Regions from separate parts of the Homo sapiens genome. Here region 1 is linked to region 2. The links are contacts of gene promoters, found by promoter capture Hi-C in human tissues and cell types (Jung and others, 2019). All regions are on one chromosome and are shown on one strand. The core of a region is centred on a gene start or on the middle of the fragment in contact, and the rest is flanking DNA. Distances in the headings are between cores, read along the strand shown. Region 1 overlaps KIAA1328. Region 2 holds the start of MOCOS (molybdenum cofactor sulfurase).

The links. The method cuts DNA at HindIII sites, captures the fragments that hold promoters and counts their contacts. A contact is called where the count stands out against the background at its distance.
Region 1: a fragment that was not itself captured here is called in contact with the fragment with the promoter of MOCOS in region 2 in 1 of the 25 tissues and cell types used here (dorsolateral prefrontal cortex).

The regions. Positions count from the first base shown.
Region 1 is chr18:37,201,354-37,205,872 of GRCh38, reverse strand. All of the region lies in intron 9 of KIAA1328, which reads right to left. Among named protein-coding and RNA genes, the nearest start is that of SNORA111, 260 kb to the left of the region's middle. The HindIII fragment of the contact is 4,141 bases long and covers 562-4,519 here.
Region 2 is chr18:36,185,742-36,190,287 of GRCh38, reverse strand. MOCOS (molybdenum cofactor sulfurase) reads right to left here and starts at 2,791. Exons shown (of 15, transcript NM_017947.4): 1 at 2,607-2,791. The coding sequence starts at 2,748. It overlaps COSMOC (cell fate and sterol metabolism associated divergent transcript of MOCOS), which reads left to right and starts at 2,853. Exons shown (of 2, transcript NR_134605.1): 1 at 2,853-3,053. RefSeq lists silencers at 2,689-2,878, 2,724-2,987 and an enhancer at 3,747-4,546. The HindIII fragment of the contact is 25,317 bases long and covers 1-4,546 here.

The sequences.
Region 1 (4,519 bases), core at 1,383-3,882, 1.0 Mb before region 2:
ACCTTTACCCAATATTAGACAATACCCTTTTAATGCCCTGCTGGACCTCATGGTCCCCTATAGATGTAAATCTTAGCATGTGCTTGAAACATTAACATTTGGGGAATTAGTTAAGCAGCATTCCAGCTGAAATCAGATGGAAAACCGAATTAAAATTATTTAGGCCACCACAACATTCCTTCTCTCAGTGGATATCTTTAGTTCAAGAGGGAAACATTTATAAGAATTAACTTGCATTATTTGTTTTAAATTATTTGCATGACTTTTGACCTTTTGGAGTACCTATTTGTGTCCTTTCTACTGAAGAAAACCGAACTGTTCCTCTCTAAAATATGGGGGATTATTGAGCTAAAAATGTTGAAAATGCATGGGAACATTCTGTCCCCTCCCTTGTTTGTCTGATGGCAGGACAGAAATTTAGAAAGAAATGGGTTTTGTTGCCTGTCTTTTCCCACCTAAAGAGAGACCCCTTTATAAGGCTTGCTTATTAGCTTAGAGACAGCCCCAGAGAATCTAGGAGCAGACTTTACTCTTCCCATAAACTTACCTTCTCACATTTTCCCACCTTTGGCACTATCCCCACGGCAGCTTTTGTTCTCCTGTTTTACTGCCTCTTTCAGTCCTCCTTCTGGCCTTAATGTGTAGTCAGTCAGTCAGCTGAGGAGCTGAGATCCCAGATGATATGGTTGGACAGAAATGTGGGTTGTACCCCATTTTTGGCTAGTGAGACTTTGCTTTCTTTCAGCTGTCTTTGGGACTGTTTCTGGATCTATTGAGGACTGCACTGCACCTCTTTGGAGATGACTTGTGCGTCCTTGGTAAAGGCATAACCTTGGTTAAGGCTTATTGGTTTTGTTGAGTCTCTTGAGAAGGTGCCTTTGGTTTAAAACAACAACAACAACAACAACAAGGTCAAAAGCCATAAATAGTGGTTGTTTGTCCTGGCTGAATTCTGATAAAGAGATTTTAAAAGAATTTTAAAAAAAGCTCTATGCTCAGAAGTCAGCTTAATTAAAAGCTGATATTCAGGGTATACTTTTTTTTAAAGGCCTTTCTGCATTTTCTCTTTTGGATCCTGTTTCTTGAGAGGTGTTTTTTTTTTTTTTTTTTGACTGAAACTCCTTTTTAATTATGTGTTTGGTCTCTCTGCTTCCTTTCATATTGATATGATTTTAGTGAAAAAAATATAAAACTTCACTGGCCTTTTGGAAAGCTTAAACTCTTTCTCTGTGCTTTGAAATATAAATTTACTACCTTATGCTCTAAAACTCAGTAAGGGCTTTGGCCATGTGAGACTTTAGCCTGTTCCATTTACAAATGCACAGTTTGAATCCAACTATCCTTTTAAACTGGGGAGTTTTAATGGTTTTATGACTAAAAACTTAAAATCAAAGCTATAAAGTCTTTGTATTTTTATGTATACCTGTGTACATGTCTGTTTGTATATTGTCTATGATACCAAATTGACTTATAAATAAATGAGCATTCATAAATAAGCCCAAATACTTTTCAAGTTCACGTGACTTAGTAATCTTTGGTAAATAAAACTAGTTTAAAAATTGTTAGAATAAAATAGGCATGTTTTCTGAATTGTCAGTATTAAATATAATTCAAACATTTTGCCTGAGTCTACTGGTTTGACAGGTTTAGGTTGTCTCTGCTAGATGTTTTAAGGTCATAAAACTCTTGCTTCTCTGGTATTTTTAGATACGTCCTTGTCTGTGAGCTTATGTCTTAAAGCTCTCTTAGAATCTAGGTTCACCGGCCAGGCGTGGTGGCTCACGCCTGTAATCCCAGCACTTTGGGAGGCCGAGGCGGGCAGATCACAAGGTCAGGAGATCGAGACTATCCTGGCTAACATGGTGAAACCCCATCTCTACTAAACATACAAAAAAATTAGCTGCGTGTGGTGGCGGGCGCCTGTAGTCCCAGCTGCTGGGGAGGCTGAGGCAGGAGAATGGCATGAACCCGGGAGGCGGAGCTTGCAGTGAGCTGAGATGGCGCCACTGCACTCCAGCCTGGGCGACAGAGCGAGACTCCGTCTCAAAAAAAAAAAAAAAGAATCTGGGTTCTAGGTAGGTAGCCATGGAAAGGCCTGAGGGCATATGTATGACCACAGCACCTAGGCCAACAGCTGCAGGGCAAAGCCAAACCAGTATGCCCTCCCTGGCCTGGCTGTGCCTCCTGGCCATGCTGGGAAGGGTCAGATATACCAGATGTTATCCTCACAGACCTATCTTTTGTCTTGGGCTCTGTACCTGGTACTTAACATTAAAATTGCATACTTCCTAGGCTTTTCACTGAAAATTAGGGTTACTAGGAGTTAACCTTGTAATTAATATATGTAATTAAAACTACTAAAAAATAGAAACATTCTATATACAGAATATATAAGAAAAGTCAGATGTGTTTTTGGTAAGAAAGGTTATAAGAAAGACGAGGATTTTTTTTGTAATTTATAAGTTATTTAAAGGTTACTTTAAGTTGAAGCAATAAAAAAGGAATGATAGATAAAACCAAATGGATATAGAAAGTTGGGGAAAGAGAATGGGAAAAACTATAAAAGTTTATAAAATGTTTATGAAATGGAAAAAACTATAAAAGGTTTATGAAAATCTTATCTTGTGTGGTCAGAGCTGACTGAGATTGGGTGGATCTGTTTATAAGGTTTTGTTAAAATTAGTTTTAATATTAACAATACATTGATATGAAGGTAGAATTTAGTTTTCTCTTTTGAATATGATTTTCATACAGCATTAATAAGATATAATAAAAGATTTTGGTTTACCTTTTGAGTAAACTTTAAAAAAAAAAAAAGGAAAAGGGGGAGAAATAGATTCTGTTTGTGTCATGCTGTATTTATTAGGTCTCTTTGATTGTTGGGAAAACTGAGTCTCTTCTCTGTCCAAGAGTAAAGGTTTTTGCTTTTTGAAATCTTTGAATTATTGCTTTGGCTAAATGAATAATCATTAATTTATAATGACCTGTGATCTTACTTTTGATATCAAATGTTTTAAACCTTTGCTATTTGACATACTTCCCCAAATCAAATTTACGTTAAAATCATGCAAGACACATTGTCAAATAATAATGGTGTTTAACCTTGAGTCATATTTATATAAATATGTTATTAATATGCATTCCAAAATTGTATGATATTCTTAAATTCTGATATGTCTTGGTATATGTCATCAATCATATTGGTGATGATTATATTAAACTGTTGTTTGCCACAGAAATCACCAAATTTCCTTGTTAATTGTGTCTTTAACCACGGCTACTCTAAGTCTTTCATCATCCAGTGACAATTATTGTTTTACTATGATTCTTCCCAAAAAGTGGTTTACAGTTAGCTACAGTCCAAAATTTGCTTTTTCTTCAAGGAAATTCATGGAAAAGACACTGACAAGTACTCTTGAATACAAGTTTGTGATAACTTTGGAGATCATACCATTGGACCAGGTAAAACCCTTCAGAACTCTAAATAAAACAAACAAACAATAACTACAACAAACTGATGGGTTTACAAAGATTACCAACCCAATATAAAGCAGAGCAGGAATTAATTACATAGGACTGAACTGATAGAGGACTGAAATAATTTTGTTATAACCTTTCATTTGAAACACTTCTGATTCTTTTTATATTTGTTTTTTTGGAATCAAGAAAATTTTCTTTTGAGCCATTCATAGCTTAAAGCAACTGGGTAAAGTATGCTTTTGTTAAAAAAAAATGGAAGCATTTACCTTTCTCTAGGCCTGATTTCTCCAGAATTTGGAAATTATTCATGAGTATTCTTATTTTATGGCAATATAGTTGTTCACATAAGTTCAGTAAGAATGTGTTCTCTATTGTAACAGGTCACAATTGGAAATGCTGGTTATTTCACCAAGGCGTTGACGAATATCATATTTTTAAATGTGACCAGACTGTTTTGAGGAAATGAGGTTGCTTTTAGAAAGCCAACAGACTTGGTAAAAGACTGGTCCAGTACCTTGTCAATACAGTTCCCTGATACAATACAGAATCCCTACAAGGTTCCTGACCTTGAGATAAGTAAATAATGCCACTTTCTGATAGGCCAGGAATCTCAAGATATTCTGGGGACCTCAAGAAGAGTTCACCTATTTTGTACATGTATTACAGGCACAGTCTGATGGTGAATCCTTGGCTTTGCTTCTTAGCCTTGAGAGGTTTTTAAAAGTCTAATCTAAAATTCCTTATTAAAAAGTTCCAGTAAAGCCAACTTAAAAGAATACTATACGGCCAACCACTATTCTTACTGCCCTTTATGCAAACAATCATACCAGGTATAGTAAGACTAAAACTTATTTTGCAAATAAGCTGGCCTTACTATGACTTCTCTTTGGTAAAAAAGGGGAACTGGAGAGAGAAAAATTATATTTCAGAAGAAAACTATAACATACCTGTTATAGATTCCAGCCCTGCTTTTATTATTTTTCTACAATTTAGACTGAATCCTGAATTATTTCCTGGCTACAAGTCTCTAGAAAAAAAA
Region 2 (4,546 bases), core at 1,542-4,041:
GCTAGTCCAAAAAGATACTTTTAAAACAATGTTCGCTTTTACTAAAGATTCAGAAATACAAAGGTACCAAACCAAAAGAAAGGCTTTTGTTCACCCAGGCATCAAGGCCACAGGTGAGACCTGGAAGCTGCTGGGGAGCATCTCACACTGTGCCACAGTCTTCTGGAGGGCCAAGTAGCTATTGGAGAAGAAGATGCTTTGGCTTTTGGTCCAATGGTTAATTTTGCAGGAAAAACAAAAGGGTGGGAAAGCTGTGTTAAATCACCCATAGATGTGATGTTAGGAGAAAGTCAGGCAGCATAGGGGTTAACAGTACAAAATCCAAGTCAATCAACCCAGACTTGAATCCTGGCTCCACCAGTAGCCATTCTGGGCCCCTGTTCTTTCATCTGCAGATGGGACAAAGGTTAAATGAGCTGCTATATGGCAGCATCCAGTCCAATGCTCGGGACACAGGTGTAGCTGTTATTAGAAACAGGTGAATTACCCCAAAGTTAAATGGCATCAGACCTTCTTCAGGAAAGAGAATTCCAGGGTCAGCTCTAGGTCATCCCCCTCCAGTTCTCTTTCCAGCATGGTGAGTGGTCATGATTCAGCACGAAGGCTTCCAGAGACCCTTGACACACATCCGTATATTCAATACTCTCCCTTCACAAAGGCAAGGAAGTTCCCATCCAAATCTTTAGGTAACACATTTCAGCACTTAAATCTTAAGCATTTAATTATTCTGAGCCACCACTTAACCAGAGTAATTCTCAAATTGGCAGAAAAACTTCATGAGGGGAGAGGAGGAACGAGGAAGAGGTGATGTTATTTTGGTTTGTTTTTTCCCGCCCTCTCTCTGTCTTGTTTCTAGGAGAAAAACAAGTGGACATGTTCCAAGACTCCCAGCAGTGGGAGGGGCGTCAGATTAGTGCACAAATGTCTGCTTTAACCGTAATGTAGAGGAAATACAAGGAACTTGCATTAAATAAAAGATGCCCACAACACTACCAGACATACAGTAAGTGGTAACGAGTTCTGAGGGCCAGCCTGGCTGACACATCCCAATTTTGCATTTGAGGGGAAAAGTACTGTTCTCTGAGGGACAAGAGTGAAACCAGGAGGGGACCAGAACATAGCTCTACTTTCCCAGGGTAGCATTGAGGGGAGAGGTTGGCCAATAGTGGGCGTGAGAGATCACAGCTGGAGGAGATTTAGGGGATTAAGGAGGTGCGGTGCTGATATAATTACTCAGGTAGCCTTGAAGAGTTGCTTCAAAGAATGGAGAGCCTCCCTCCCCAGCACCTGTAGGCATTCATAGTACCCCTCTATTTCTGAGTGGTAGGAAATTTCCATAATTAATAGTTGAGAGAGAGAGAGAGAGAGAGAATACGAAAGAAGGGTGAGGAGCTGTCTCCAGCAGGTGACCCTGCGAGAGGGAAGGATGAGGAGTGAATAGAGAGGTTGGCAGAAGGCACCCCCGTCTCCCTCCTGACTCTCCCTACTTAGGAAGCCAGAGGAGACACACAGGAGGAGGCCACAGTTCTCACAGCCCCCAAAGGGAAAACACAGTTACCCTCCACAACACCAGGAAGTGACCCGAAGCGCTGAAATCAGCTACCCGAGTAGTGAAACCTAAGTCATGGTTGCTGTTCTGCCCCCAGAAGGGGAGCAGTCACCAGTTGTTCATCGCGACAGAGCAGATACACTCAAACCCCGGTGCCCTGTGCCAAGACGTGCCCACTTCACCTGCACACCCTCCTTGACCATCCGGCACGCGGCCCTGGGGCTTGATGAAGCCCTGCACCCAAAGTCCCTGGCAGAGGGATGAGTCACGAACTTGGGCCCTGGCAGCAGAGGGCTGGGTCGGCCAAGGCCAGATGGAGCTTGATTTGCAATTTCATCAGCCTGTTCCGCTCTGAGGAAAGGCACGATGTGATCTTGGTGTTGTCTAATTCACAGGCTCGCCCTGTTCTTAAAGGTGAAATTGCACTGTTTGCTAATTCTTCTAGTCCCCCAGAGAACTGGAGCTCAGAGGGATTGTTCTGACGCTGTAAGAGTAAGGAAAATGAGGTTTCGAAAATCAAAGCTGAATACAGGCTATCCCAGAGGAGTCTGCAGAGCGCAGCCTCGGGAGGCCCCGGCCAAGAGGCCTTGGCCTCCCGGTCCCAACCTGGCGCGCCGTCAGAGGTGCTGTCCCAGCCCGGGCGCTGGCGGTCCACGCACCGCTCCTACCTCGGGAGGACATCCGAAGGGTCACGGCCGCTGGACATGCTGTCTTTTGCAACCCCGGCCCCAGCAGGCCCTTTACAGTGAGGGGTCTCCCGCAAGAGAGGGCAAGAACCATCCTAAGCCCCGCTCGCGGAGGGCGGGAAAAGGGGAAGACGGCTAGGTTGGTCCTGCCCACCGGAAAGTCGGAAGAGTAAGAGTAGCAAGAAGCCTTGGGGCTGCAGGTGGGACCTCAGGGAGCCGTGTCTACTAGGAGGACGCGTGGACACGTCCCTCCTGGAGTTTCGATTCAAAATGCGCCCGAATGAGGTAGCGCCGCTCTCACTAGGAGCAAAAGATCCGTCCACGTCGGTTCCAGAAACCTCGTGTCCCCCAAGCCTGCCCGCCCGCCTCACCTGCCAGGCGGCTGAACTCGCGCGCCCGCAGCTCGCGCAGGCTGCCCGGGCCGTAGCCGTAGGCTAGCCGCGGTGCGCTCGGGTCCCGGGAACCCGCGAAGGTCCACAGCTCCCGCCCTGACTCCGCCGCCGCGCCGGCCATGGCCCCGGCTAGTCCATCCAGGCCGGCCGGGCCCGGGAAGTGCGCGAAGCCGGCCCCCGGCGACTCCGCCCCCGCCACGCCTCCCAGGCCTCCAGCCTCCCAGTCTCTCGGAATCCGCAGCCTAGGTGTGGCGCCCCGACCGGACTTTCACTTCTGGCCAGCCCTTTCCCCACCTGGGCGCGGGAGCGGGTGCCAGTCTTTAAACAACCTCTCGATGGGTCCCACGAAGATGTTTCCAGACCCTTGGAATGCCAAGTTCAAGTTTAGCTATGTCTCGCGGAGAGGCCGGTGGAAGAAGCAACGAGGTGATCTTTCCTGCTTGGCATCGGCATCCTGGAACCCCGCGACCCTCCTCCTCGCAGGGGTCTCGGGACCCTCACCCTCTCAAGCGGGAACCGGCGTCTGGCGGGGGCGGGGGTGGGGGCGTTCTCGGGTTGCTGCTACCCAGCGGGGCGTGTGCTTGCCGTTTGTTAGAATGCGGCTGACCAAAGGGTAGAAAAGGGGAAAGATTAGGGATCCACGAGGCTAATAAATTCTCAGTGGCTGCACACTTTCGGAACCGGGAAGCTCGGGGGCTTCCCCCGGAGCGGGCCCTGCAGCTGGGATCCAAGTGAGCTGAGCTTCCCCGCCCTCCCAACCGCGTCCTGGGCCCTACTTCCTGCCCTTGCCTCCCCAACCCTGCATCCCGCCCCGCACTTCCCGCACGTGGGTGTGGCCGGGCCCTCTCTATTAAAGCAAGAGTGCCCTAGGACAAAGCCGCCCCTGTCCCGGACAGAGTGGAATAAGAGCGCCTCCTTCAATCCCCACTCGCGCCTGCACCCAGAGCACCTGGGACACAGCGGCTCTGTCTTGGAGAACAGGTGCCTCAATAGGGAGGGCCTGGCCAAACCTATGCGCGGGAAGTGCGGAGCGGGATGCAGGGGTGGGGCGGCAGGTGCAGGTAGTAGAGCCCAGGCATGCGGTTGGGGGGTGGGGGGAAATCTCACGTGCGATCCCAGGTGCGGAACCCGCTGCTGGGAATGGGGTGGAAGCAAAACAGGTACTGCACGCACAGGCGAGGTGCCTCGTGGGGGAATCGAATGTCAGGGATGGTGGACAGTGCGGATGGGCGGCAGGTGCTGGGGCTCAGGGGAGATAACTCAGAGGCAGGCTCGGTGGAGAACCCAAGGCCGGCGACCAGGTGCAGGCGGCCCACAGGCCCTGGAGGCATACAGCGGGGGGACAAGGTGGGAAGGAGGCCTATGCCCCAAGAGCTCAACCTGTGCTGCATCCAGGCCAGCTGCCACCCAGGGTATGGGCCGCAGATGCCCTAGGATCCTTGCTGATGCATGATGCATACCGGTGCCCAGCGTGAGAGCCATGGGAAGGCAGCACGCAGCCCTGGCTCTCCCGCCCAGGCCCCTGATACCAGGCCAGAGAAAGACCCGCCACTAAGAGCTCATTTCCCCCTGGCCGGAGACCCAGGGGTCTGTGGACTGCAGCGCTAGGGTCCATGCCCAGGTACCCATATTCCTCAGTGGCCTCTGCCCACTGACCACCCCCGCTCTCTCCCTCACTGCTGAATGTCCAGGACCTTACTCGACAAACACCCATAGTTGTTCGAGGAGGAGTTAATGTACTGATGGATGGATGCAGGCATTTGCTCATTGACATCACTGCCCACCCCACCATCTGCTTGCCTTCTGGCCATGCTTCAAGCAGGCACTTTGGATACTGGACTGTCTTCTGTGAATGTGGCTTTGGGCAGCACTAATAACAAGAGCTAGTTACAGGGCCTCACTGTGTGCCAGGCACTGCA